2 separate regions of the Homo sapiens genome follow, and region 1 is linked to region 2. Evidence: promoter capture Hi-C in human tissues and cell types (Jung and others, 2019). All regions are on one chromosome and are shown on one strand. Each heading gives the region's core, a stretch centred on a gene start or on the middle of the fragment in contact. The rest is flanking DNA. Distances are from core to core; before and after follow the strand shown.

Evidence for each region. Contacts are between HindIII fragments. The study calls those that stand out against the background at their distance.
Region 1: a fragment that was not itself captured here is called in contact with the fragment with the promoter of SLC26A4 in region 2 in 1 of the 25 tissues and cell types used here (hippocampus).

Annotation. Positions count from the first base shown.
Region 1 is chr7:107,693,263-107,696,022 of GRCh38, reverse strand. It overlaps SLC26A4 (solute carrier family 26 member 4), which reads right to left. Exons shown (of 21, transcript NM_000441.2): 11 at 1,543-1,620; 12 at 1,307-1,402; 13 at 1-90. Among named protein-coding and RNA genes, the nearest start is that of SLC26A4-AS1, 33 kb to the right of the region's middle. The HindIII fragment of the contact is 5,968 bases long and covers 1-2,760 here.
Region 2 is chr7:107,659,487-107,662,207 of GRCh38, reverse strand. SLC26A4 (solute carrier family 26 member 4) reads right to left here and starts at 1,380. Exons shown (of 21, transcript NM_000441.2): 1 at 1,353-1,380; 2 at 403-569. The coding sequence starts at 566. SLC26A4-AS1 (SLC26A4 antisense RNA 1) reads left to right here and starts at 410. Exons shown (of 2, transcript NR_028137.1): 1 at 410-606; 2 at 2,002-2,721. The HindIII fragment of the contact is 16,998 bases long and covers 1-2,721 here.

The DNA.
Region 1 (2,760 bases), core at 1-2,500, 34 kb before region 2:
CACAGTCAACAGTCCAAATATAAGGCCAGCTAGTAAACCGAGATCCAGCCCCAGAATGATGGACACTATACACGTAAACACCCAGATAACCTAGGGAAAAAAATAGAAATGAAAAGAATTATATTAATGTATCAGGTACCATCATGTGATAACTACCTATAAAAATAAGATCAATGATCCACAAACAAATTACATTTTTTTTTTTCTTTTGAGATAGGGTCACACTCTATTGCCCAGGCTGGAGTGCAGTGGCACCATGATAGTTCACTGCAGCCTCCATCTTCTGGATTCAAGTGATCCTCCCGCCTCAGCCTCCCAAGTAGCTGGGACTACCCACAAGTACATACCACCAAACCCGGCTAATTTTTAATCTTTTATTTGTAGTAGAGACAAGGTCTCACTGTGTTACGCAGGCTGGTCTCAAATTCCTGAGCTCAAGTGATCCTCCTGCCTCCCAAATTGCTGGGATTACAGGCCTGAGCCACTGTGCCTGGCCAAATCACAGCTTTTTAAAAATATTGTGACTTCATTCATTTTATATTTAAGTAGCTGTAGAAACTGGGCTTCTCAATTAAGACCAACTGTCCCATTTTATTTATTTCTAAATTTTTGAATAGCTAATATATTTGTATGGTTCATAAGGGAATTATCATTAAAAAGGGGAAAACTCTTGCTCACAACCCTCCCCCTTCTCCACCCATTCCCAACTTCCCTCCCTCCTTGTATCCGCTTTTATTTCTGCCTGTGTCTGTGCTTTTCCCCAGCATTTCTATTCTGGTCTCTTTTTCACTTAACGATTTGTCTTGGAAAATTTTCCATATCAATATGTAGGAAGTCTTCTCATTCTTTTTATGGTTTAAATTAGAGAGGAACTCTGAAGGATTTAGCTTCTGATTTTTAGTTTCTCAGAATAGTTGCAAAGGTTATGTTAGTCAGAGTTAAAGTCAGCGTGGGTTTTTACATTTTGTATTTTGTTTTTGCATTGTTTTGTATGTTGTTTGTCCTTCTAAACTAGGGTGTTTAAACATTTTTTTGCTTTTTGTGTTTAGAAGGCCAAAGGTGTATGAATGAGCCTCATATGGGATTCTTGCTGGAAATTGACCTTCCCAGAGATACAGAATCTTCACAAAATGCAGTTCACATGGAAGACTTCATGGCTTTGATTTATCCCCACAATTCTAATTTCTCCTCTGGAGTTCCCAAAGCACAAGTGAGACTTAGGGGATGGGGGGAATATAGTGATATGGCAGGAAGCATATAAGAACCAAATCTTATTTCAGATAAATATAGGTGGTAGGTGACTTACAGCATCAATCTTATTCTGTCTCCACAGACGAGGAATGTCACACAGCTGCATAAACATCCCTTTCAGGTTGGCAATTACAACAGCTGCCAAGACCGACTGCCAAGAGAGACAGAGAAGGCTGTGTTATTCAGGGAATGGTTTTCCATGTGATGATTGTTAAATCTCCTGTTATTTATCTGGTAGCAGAGTAGTGAAGGGAAATTATGCAATCGGTATGCAGAGAAGCAGGGTTATACCTTCTGCAAGGGTTCCAGAAGCTTCCCCAGGGCAAGAATGGCGATCATCACAATCGCAGCAGAGATGATGCCAGCAACCTGGAAGACACACACCTCCTATGAAAAGGATTCGTCCTTCTCCCTTGTGTCTTCCAGCTCACTGGATGTGTGTATGAGACAGCCTGTTCACAGACACACTTCATACTTCCCTGTCTCCCCCTTCTGCTCAATACTGTCGAGAAAAGTGATAGTTATTTGCTCAAGCCACAAAACTGAACAAAAATGGCATCTATATATGCTATGGCAGAGAAGTTAAAGAAAATATGGGGACTGATCCTATGAAATTAAAGCCAGTTTGACAGGGATTTTATTTGGTGATAGTACACACCTGCGGTTTCGGCGTCCATTCAGGCCAAGCTTCTAGTTATTTACCATGGCAGGAAACATGGACCAATCCCCCCTTTCCCAACAACAGAGATCATTGTCGTATTCTTGGGAAATAAATTCTCATGGCACATAGCTGATTTTTCTGCATTATTGAAGCTGCAGCTATAATAGCAACTCTGATAACACTTCGTACTTGTAGCACATGGTCTCATTAAAGTCTCAGAGAAAATAAATTTACTCATCCTATTGCAAATTCGAAATGCCACATTTGCACATTGAGAGGTGGGATTGTGTCTCCTGCCTCCTCTGACAGTTCCACGGAGGCAGGCTCAGAGCTTTGCCCCAAGGCAGCCTGAAACAGTGACTATGGAGTAACGGGGCAATAGCAGGGGTAAAAGGAAGCTTCAGAAACTTTACCTTCGCTGGCAAAAATAGCTCTCCTAAGATCCATACTAGTTAGGAGAGAGGCTGAGGGGGTGGGGACTACTCTCTCGTTTGATTAGATGACCAATGAATTCTCTGTTGAGACAGCTGGGGCAGAGCCAAGATGAAGATTAGAAGCTCTGAAACAAAGAAGAAAAGGAGACAGGGAACTACAAGCAAAGCAATCAGAGAGGAAACAACTGGGAAGATTTTGTTGAGCACAAGTACTGTCTAGTGCAAAAGGTCTGAGTTACGGGAGACAGACACAGCAAATATAAACAGAAAATTAGAAAGCACTTGCTCTACCTGGCAAATTGATCATTTATATTTAGATTATAGTTGGGTCAGCCTGAGGCAATATGATGTGTATGAGGTACTAAAAAGCGTGCTTTGTATGTCTGGCTGGCTTTTCTATGCTCTTCCTATCCC
Region 2 (2,721 bases), core at 131-2,630:
CTTGAGTGTTTCAAGGACTCCTCCTGGTCAAGAGCTGGGTTTCCCTATTCATTTCATTTAAACAAGCTCCCAAGAAGGCAACAGGGACCCACTGTACCCCAAGAGGCACTCCAAGTTTCCTTCAGAGAGGAAAAAGAGAGACGGGGCTCCTAGAACCCACTCTCCCCAAAGGCGAGTTTCCCAGGTAAGTTCATTTCGGGCCCGAGACTGATGGAGCCACCCTCCCACCAGAAGGGCGGCGTGGAGGACCGGAGACCGAAAGTCGGGCCTCTGGGAGAAGCAGCTGGCGCCCAGGGGCTCCGCCGCCCGCACCCCACTCTCGCCCGCTGGGGACGCCCTTCCCTCCCCAAGGCGTGGACGCCCCGCTCCGCTTCTCTCTACGCAGGCCCGCGCGGCCGCTACCTGCAGCACTTGGCCAGGCTCTCCCGCAGCGTCTTGCGCTCCTGCAGGCGCCGCTCGTGCTGTTGCTGGAAAGCGAGCTCGCTGTAGACCGGCCGCGACACCATGTAGCTGCAGCTGTACTCGGGGAGCTGCGGCGGCTCCGACCTGCCGCCTGGCGCTGCCATGACCTGCGAGCCAGAGGACAGCGAGGAGGGAGGACACGCGGTAAGCGAGGACGATCGGAGGGGAAGAGCGAGGAACAGAAAGAACGGGATCACCTGTTAGCTGCAGCCAGGCCCCCCTGCACCGCGAGTCTGGTCCGCGTCCTGCAGCCCTCGGCGCTCGCGACAAGCGCCCCACGGCGCGCACGGCCAGCCTGCAGGGGGGCACCTGAGAACCTTCGGGTCTCGTGGCCTGCACCCGCTGCCCGGGGTTCCCCAAACTTGAAGCGAGTAAGCCCCTGCTCTGGGGGCTTCCCGAGTTCCACCCAGTCCCCTATGGCCCGCAGCCAGGGCGCTGTCCGCGTTCTGAAATCTCCCCCAAACCGAGGGGCTGGGGCAGGGGCCAAAGGCGCTTGCAAGGCTGGAAGGGGACACTGAGATTCCCTCCCTCCCCGCACCTGACCCGGGACGCAGCTCCAGGTGCGCACTGGAGGAGAGGTGCAGACCCCCGGGCCAGGCGTGGAACCGTCAGGGCGCGCTCCGCGGGTCCCCAAGAGGCGGACGCTGCAGGCACATTCCAGCAGCTGTCGCAGCCCTCTCGGGGGCAGAACTTTCAGCTTATTGAGCAAGTCTCTCCCCTCGTCCTGTTTTCCGAGCAGCCTGTTCGCTCTCGGCGTCTCAGAAAGAAAGCTGTACTGCCCCCTGCCCACCTGATCCGTGACCACTTAAGAGTCCCATCCGCAACCCTCGAGGCCTCCCCGGGAGTGGAGCCCGGGCCGGGCGGTGTGGGCATCTTCAGGGCGAACTCACCTGTCTCTGCTCGCGCCCCGCCCGGAATGCCCCGCGGACTACCCTTCCGCTGCCTTTATAGCGCTCTCAGAAGGCAGTGGGACGTTTTATTTACGGAGCAACAGACACCTTGGTCGAAGGGAAAGACACACACAGGCTGCGGTCTTTCCCAACCGATCCTATCAGGAAAGAAATCCTACCCCTCCTGCATTCTTCCCCTTTCCCGAACCGGGAAGGCTGAGACTCTTACTGGCTGCCACGCAGGGGCCACCCGGATCCTCACTCATCCCGTTACTAATCTCAAGGGTTGCGAGGTCAGGGGCGGGCCAGGCCCTGTGGGACTCCTTAAAGAAGAGCAGAGCCCGCCTAGAGGAAGAGGTCCGTGGTCTCTGGGAGCCTGCCACAGGTGCTCTCATACCACATGGGGAGGAGAAGAGGAACAATGGCCAGGTTTCTATATTAATAAGTCCTTGAATTTCTAGAAAGTCTTTTAGGAGTATTCAATGGGTGGAGGATACAGAGAGTTCACGATTTACTCAGATTTTAGCCACTTATTCTACGTGTGCATGTGTGTGTGTTTTATTTCACAATCCAAATCAAGCCGTCCAGGTGGCCCTTTCTTACCCACTAGACTCTGTTTTTTCTTTTTCTCATTCTCCTGGACAATCAGGGAAGGAATAAACTGGACTACATGGAAATCAAGACTAGAAGAGAGGGAGGAGGAGCTGGAGCTATCCTACCTCATCAGTGTTTTGTCTTCTGTTGGGATGAACTTTGTTAAAACTAATGCATGGTTAAGATGAAAGGCAGAAGGAAGGGTTTGATAAACCAGAACATTCTCGCCTGATTGTTAGTGTTCTGAAGTAAATACAGAAGAGGCTCCAAAATACAGACCTCTGTACATCAACCTTCCGTAATCCACCTGCCTTGCATATGCAGACCATGACAATTCTACGAGCTCCTGGAAACAGAACTCAGAACTCCTCCCCAGAGAACCCTGATGCAAATTCTCTGAAATGGTAGTCAGCATGTGCGTTTTCCTGAGAAGTGAATGAGTCAACAGCTTTCAACAGATCTTCAAAGGCTTACTTCACCCAATGAAGTTAAGAACCACTAAAGAAGAAACCTAAAAGGAAAATCCAGGTCATGAACTTTGCAATTTTTATTCACATACAGAGAAGAGGGGAGGAATCTCTTGTGTATGTTTTACTTATGTATACCACTGGTTCTTAATAAAGGGCTTTTTTTGCCTCCAGAGGTCAATGCCTGGAGACATTTTTGGTTGTCACACCTAGGGAGATGCTATTGGGATCTAGTGAGTAGAGACCAGAGATGCTGCTAAACATCCTACAATGAAGTTTGCTATCACTCCAAGGTTTTGCATGCGACT